2 separate regions of the Homo sapiens genome follow, and region 1 is linked to region 2. Evidence: promoter capture Hi-C in human tissues and cell types (Jung and others, 2019). All regions are on one chromosome and are shown on one strand. The core of a region is centred on a gene start or on the middle of the fragment in contact, and the rest is flanking DNA. Distances in the headings are between cores, read along the strand shown. Region 1 holds the start of ACTRT2 (actin related protein T2). Region 2 holds the start of TTC34 (tetratricopeptide repeat domain 34).

What was found. Contacts are between HindIII fragments. The study calls those that stand out against the background at their distance.
Region 1: a contact is called between the fragment with the promoter of ACTRT2 here and the fragment with the promoter of TTC34 in region 2, in 1 of the 25 tissues and cell types used here (H1 embryonic stem cells).

What each region holds. Positions count from the first base shown.
Region 1 is chr1:3,020,139-3,023,036 of GRCh38, forward strand. It overlaps ACTRT2 (actin related protein T2), which reads left to right and starts at 1,329. Exons shown (of 1, transcript NM_080431.5): 1 at 1,329-2,765. The coding sequence starts at 1,549. The coding sequence ends at 2,682. The HindIII fragment of the contact is 18,700 bases long and covers 1-2,898 here.
Region 2 is chr1:2,800,254-2,802,953 of GRCh38, forward strand. TTC34 (tetratricopeptide repeat domain 34) reads right to left here and starts at 1,440. Exons shown (of 9, transcript NM_001242672.3): 1 at 1,324-1,440; 2 at 1-615. The coding sequence starts at 574. The HindIII fragment of the contact is 12,605 bases long and covers 1-2,700 here.

The DNA.
Region 1 (2,898 bases), core at 79-2,578, 220 kb after region 2:
AAAATCCTTCAATAATCAAGTTTTTGTTGACTACCACCCAGGGATTAGTGGGGCCCACAAAACCACGTGTCAACAAGACACATCTACACCACACATCAACAACGAGTGTACCGCGCGTGTCTACACCACCCATCTATCCCATGCATCTACACGGCACATCCATATGCGTCTGTACCTCGTGTCTACACCACATGTCTGTACCACGTGTCTAGACTGCCCATCTACAACATGTGTCTACACCACCATCGGATTAATGCCTGCTGGTGGGTCAGCAGGGCAGGCAGGACACACAGAGGGGGCCACCAGCAGGAGCTGAGGGGCTCCAGGAAGGGAGTGACCCCGGGAGGCGTCCTCTGGGAGAACTCTGGGGGGCCAAGCTGGGCTGGAGCATGATTGTGGATATGACAGGAGAGGTAGAATAAACCTCACATTCTCCAAGGCCACCTCCAACCTCCTTAGGAAAAAAGTGAAGCTGGTTCCCAGGTTGGATCCCCTCCCACTTTCTCCCCAAGCGGAAGACAAAGCGGGGGTCTGAGTGCCGGGCGTGCACTGTTGTGGGTGCCCTTGGCCTGGCCCGGTGCCTCCTTCCTGGTCATGCTCAGGCCTTGACCTTTAATGGCCTGGTCACCTCTGAGCATTGCTCTGTGGTTGTGGCCTGACTGTGTGGCAGCTCATAGACACAGAGAGGTGTCACAGGCTGCAATCCAGGCTACCCATGTGAAACCAGCAGGCCATATCTTCAGGGCTGTTGGGTTCCCAACTCTATGGCTGCTGGACTTTGTTGTGTGCTGGCACTTCAGAGTCTGCAGAGAGGAATGAGGGGTGCTGGCCTCAAGCCAGAGCAGAGATGTATTCCTGGACAAAGGGCCAGCAGCCCAGAGGGCTTTGAATAGGGTCTACCCAGTGGGACAGACAGCCAGGACTAATGGGATGGAGGGAGGAGAAATCCCTGAGAGCTTCCTGGGGGAATCACTATTCAAAAGCACATTCTAAGTGCCTGCTGGGACAGAACTGCTTACAACACCCCTCCGACCTGGTGCTTGGTTTTCCCCCTTAGCAAAGGGAAGTGTTGTCACCCCAGAAGTTGCAGCTCAGGGGCCAGAGAAGCTGGTTTTCTAGGGTGCACGCAGGCTGGGCTGCTTCTCTCCACTCTAAAGCTAAGTCTCTGCCTCAGCCCACAGGCTTGTCCAGCACCGCCCTAGGATGCACTTGTCTCTCTCTCTCTCTCTCACCTCACCCTGTGGGGGATGGGGGACTCAGAGCCCCACCCCCAGGGCCTCTGAGGCTCAGGACAATCGTTGCCTTGGCTAGATTGTTACCTAGGAGACAACCCCCTGGCCCCCTGGAAGAGGCCTCAGCAGGCCCAGGCCACCTGGAGGGAGAGCAGACCTGCGGCTGAGGATGCAGGGCTCCCGGGCACGGTGCTAGCCCTGCCTTGAGACACCCCGAGAGCTGTGGGAAGAGCTGTGGGATCCCCTATTGCATCACAAAGCGGCCCTGGAGGGCTGGTCTTTATTTTGATGAGGCTGAGAAGGGAAGGCTGCGGGCATGTTTAATCCGCACGCTTTAGACTCCCCGGCTGTGATTTTTGACAATGGCTCGGGGTTCTGCAAAGCGGGCCTGTCTGGGGAGTTTGGACCCCGGCACATGGTCAGCTCCATCGTGGGGCACCTGAAATTCCAGGCTCCCTCAGCAGAGGCCAACCAGAAGAAGTACTTTGTGGGGGAGGAGGCCCTGTACAAGCAGGAGGCCCTGCAGCTGCACTCCCCTTTCGAGCGTGGCCTGATCACAGGGTGGGATGACGTGGAGAGACTCTGGAAGCACCTCTTTGAGTGGGAGCTAGGCGTGAAACCCAGCGACCAGCCCCTGCTTGCAACGGAGCCCTCCCTGAACCCCAGGGAGAACCGTGAGAAGATGGCAGAAGTCATGTTCGAGAACTTCGGCGTGCCCGCTTTCTACCTGTCGGACCAGGCGGTGCTGGCTCTCTACGCCTCTGCCTGTGTCACGGGCCTGGTGGTGGACAGCGGGGATGCGGTCACCTGCACTGTCCCCATCTTTGAGGGTTACTCCCTGCCCCACGCAGTCACCAAGCTCCACGTGGCGGGCAGGGACATCACGGAGCTCCTCATGCAGCTGCTCCTGGCCAGCGGCCACACCTTCCCCTGCCAGCTGGACAAGGGTCTCGTGGACGACATCAAAAAGAAGCTGTGCTACGTGGCCTTGGAGCCCGAGAAGGAGCTTTCCCGGAGGCCGGAGGAGGTCCTGAGGGAGTACAAGCTGCCCGACGGGAACATCATCAGCCTCGGGGACCCGCTGCACCAGGCGCCCGAGGCCCTGTTCGTGCCCCAGCAGCTGGGCAGCCAGAGCCCCGGGCTCTCGAATATGGTCTCCAGCAGCATCACCAAGTGTGATACCGACATCCAGAAGATCCTCTTTGGGGAGATTGTGCTGTCGGGGGGCACTACCCTGTTCCACGGGCTGGATGACCGGCTTCTCAAGGAGCTGGAGCAGCTGGCCTCCAAGGACACCCCCATCAAGATCACGGCTCCCCCCGACCGGTGGTTCTCCACCTGGATTGGAGCCTCCATCGTCACCTCTCTGAGTAGCTTCAAGCAGATGTGGGTCACCGCCGCAGACTTCAAGGAGTTTGGGACCTCCGTGGTGCAGAGAAGATGCTTCTGAAGGCCGCTTCTCGTTGGGTACCGTGGGGGGTGAACCCTAGCCCCAGCTTTGGGAGGATGTTCAATAAAGGACCAATGCCGGAACACCTGGCCACCTCGGCTCAGTTCCTTCTTGGGGGCGGCAGAGTCATTTCTGGCCCTGACAGTGAATCTGTGAAGTGTCTTGGTCCACACCCGCTCCCCTTCGCTTCCTCCCAAGAAAGCCTGGGCTGAGGCC
Region 2 (2,700 bases), core at 190-2,689:
GGAGGGCACTGAGCAGCGCGGGGAGGTGGGGCCGCTGGTGGGTGCGAATGAAAGCTACCGTCCGGTCGGCGCTGGAGGCGAAGGCCTGGAGATAGGCGGCCACACCATCCGCTGCCTGCACCCCGGACAGGACCCAGGCGAGGGCGCGGGTCAGCCGCAGCTCCAGGACTTGCTGTGCATGAGAGTCCAGCAGGGCGCTGCAGCGTTGCACCACTTCTTCGTGACGCCCGCGGGCCAGCAGACCTGCCAGCAGGTGCAGGATGGCGGCGGGGTGGTCCGGGCAGAGGGCGCCGAGGAAGGCAGAGGCCAGCGACCCTGTCAGGGAGACCACTGCCATGCCGTCCCAGTGGATGGCGGGGATCTGGCTGTCCCCGCGGCACCAGGACTCCAGGGTGGCCACCACCGCCGCCCCCCGAGCCTGGGCCAGGGCAGTGCGCACACTCTGCAGGGCTGAGGGGGCGTGGCAGCTGAATGCAGCCAGGTAGAAGGCGGTGGCCAGGGGCAGCTCCCCCAGCGCCAGATGCTGCTCCCCCTCCCGGCAGAGGCAGGCCACGAGCTCCTGGGCTGACATCATGTCTGGGACCCCGACGGGCCCATGTCTGGTCCTCAGAGTACCTGGGGGTGGGGGAGCATGGTGAGTCCACAGAGGGCGGCCAGTTCTCCTGCCCTGTGGCCACCCGTGCCCAGCCTCAAGCCACCTCCACCCCTTCCCATTGACCCCACGGTCAGTGCAGACCCCACTGGGTGAAAACTGGGGGGATCCTGGGCTGGTGGGGTGGGGCCTACCAGGTGTCCCAGGCCAACTTCCAGCCCACTGTTCACCTCTGGGGCCTCAGTTTCGTGCCTTGCAGAATGGGACAGTGGCCTCCCCCAGCTCAGTTCCCTCTAAGAACATCTGACCCCTGAGTGTCCATGTCGGGAGGGTTACGGTGGCCCGAGGTGTCAGGGCCCAGCAATAGGAACCCCGGACCCACCCTCTGCCCCTCCCAACCCTGAGCCCCTCAGGAAGGCACACCCCCCGTCAGTCCAGGCAGCCCTCTCAGTGGGACGCAGGACCACACCCCTGCCCACCCTCTCACACCTGGGCCATTCGAGGGGGGCGCCGAGAGCACCTGCCAGGCCCTTGGGTCGGGGGAGCCACCCCAGCCCATGGGTGGGGGGGTTCAGTTTTGAGGTTGAGGTTCCAGGGACAGCCCCTGGTACTCCCCTATTCCCTGTCCCCAAGCTACTTGACCTGACGAACTAGCTCCGCACAGCCCTTTCTTCCCTCATCAAACAGGCAGCCCCCAGCATCCGCTCTCAGACACACACAGACACACTCACACTCGTCTGCAGCTTGGAGGCTGAGCCGGCTGTGCCCTGGGGACCCAGATTCCCTCGTGGGTGGTGGGGGACAGAGGGATGTGGCTGGCTGGAGGGCCCAGGCCTGGGTGGGGCTCCTATGACCGCCCCGTGTGGGTTGGGGAAGGCACAGCCTGCGGTTTCCCGGGAGAGTGTCAACACCCTTGGGTCTCCTGGCTGTCCTGCAGCGCCCCGCTGTGGCCAGAGGCTACCAGGCCGAGGTCCCACCCACACTGCCCCAGCCAGGCTCCAATGGGCTGCCTCAGAGCAGAGAACCCTGAGTTCATGGGGGTGTTGGGGGAGAAGGGGCCTGTGGGGTACAGCCCCCCATAGCCGGGGCCAGCCTCCACCCTGCCTGCTCTGCCAGGGTGCCCCCAGCCTCCTCTCCACATAGATGAGGAGGGCGCTTCCTGGAGGCAGGTGGGGGCCGCCTGCCCACCCAGTGCACTCAGGCTCTGGGTTTGTCCCCCAGAACTCCGCCTGGGCTGCTATGCGGGCCCCTCACCGCCCAGCCTCACTCCTCTTCTGGCAGGGCCCTGTCACCCGGTCCTGGGGCACCTCCCCACAGGCTGTTCCCTGTGCCGGCAGCTGGGACTGGACCTTCCGTGCACAGCCAGCCCATTTCCCTTGGCCGTCCTCCCTCTGAGAGGCTTAGGCAGCCCTGTCCTGCCTGCACCAGCTGAGCCAGCTGTGCCCTGGGGAGGGCAGGGCACATTAGCCGAGGGCACACCCCTCCCCCATCACAGGGTTGAGGCCCAGAGGCAGCTCTGGGAGCCATGACCTGAGCCTACTGCCCAGGGACCCTGATTGTTGCTGAGGAAGGGGTGGCAGCATAGGGACTATTTTAGGAAACATCACCTTCAGCCCGTGGCCACCGTCAGCCCATGCCGCAGGAGCAGAAAGACTGAGTGGGGTGGCTGGAGGCAGGCTCAGGTCCCTGAAGCTGAGACCCCACCACCGGCAGCTGCCCTGGAGGGCAGGCATGAGTGGGGGGAATGGGGGTGGTGCGTCCCTGAGAGAGGTCCCTCCCAATTCAGGATGCCAAGGTGCCCGGACACCAGGCCAATGCTGGCTCCTCTGTGGGGCTCAGGGAAGCAGGGTTGGGGGTGCCCTTTGGGGGAGGAGATCTTGGGAGTGGGGGGTGGCATCCCTGATCCCCTCGATGTCTGGGTCTCCTGAGACATGCCCCGCAGGCCCTTTGGGGAGGGTGTGGAGCCCCTGCAGCGTGGGCAGAGCAGTCAGGGTCAGTCTGAGGGTGCAGGGCAGGGGGGTCAGCAGGGCTGGGGCTGCCTGGCCCAGTTCTTCAGCTCCATGACATTCACCAGGGCCCAAGGCCTGTGCGGGTAATGCAGTGGGGGC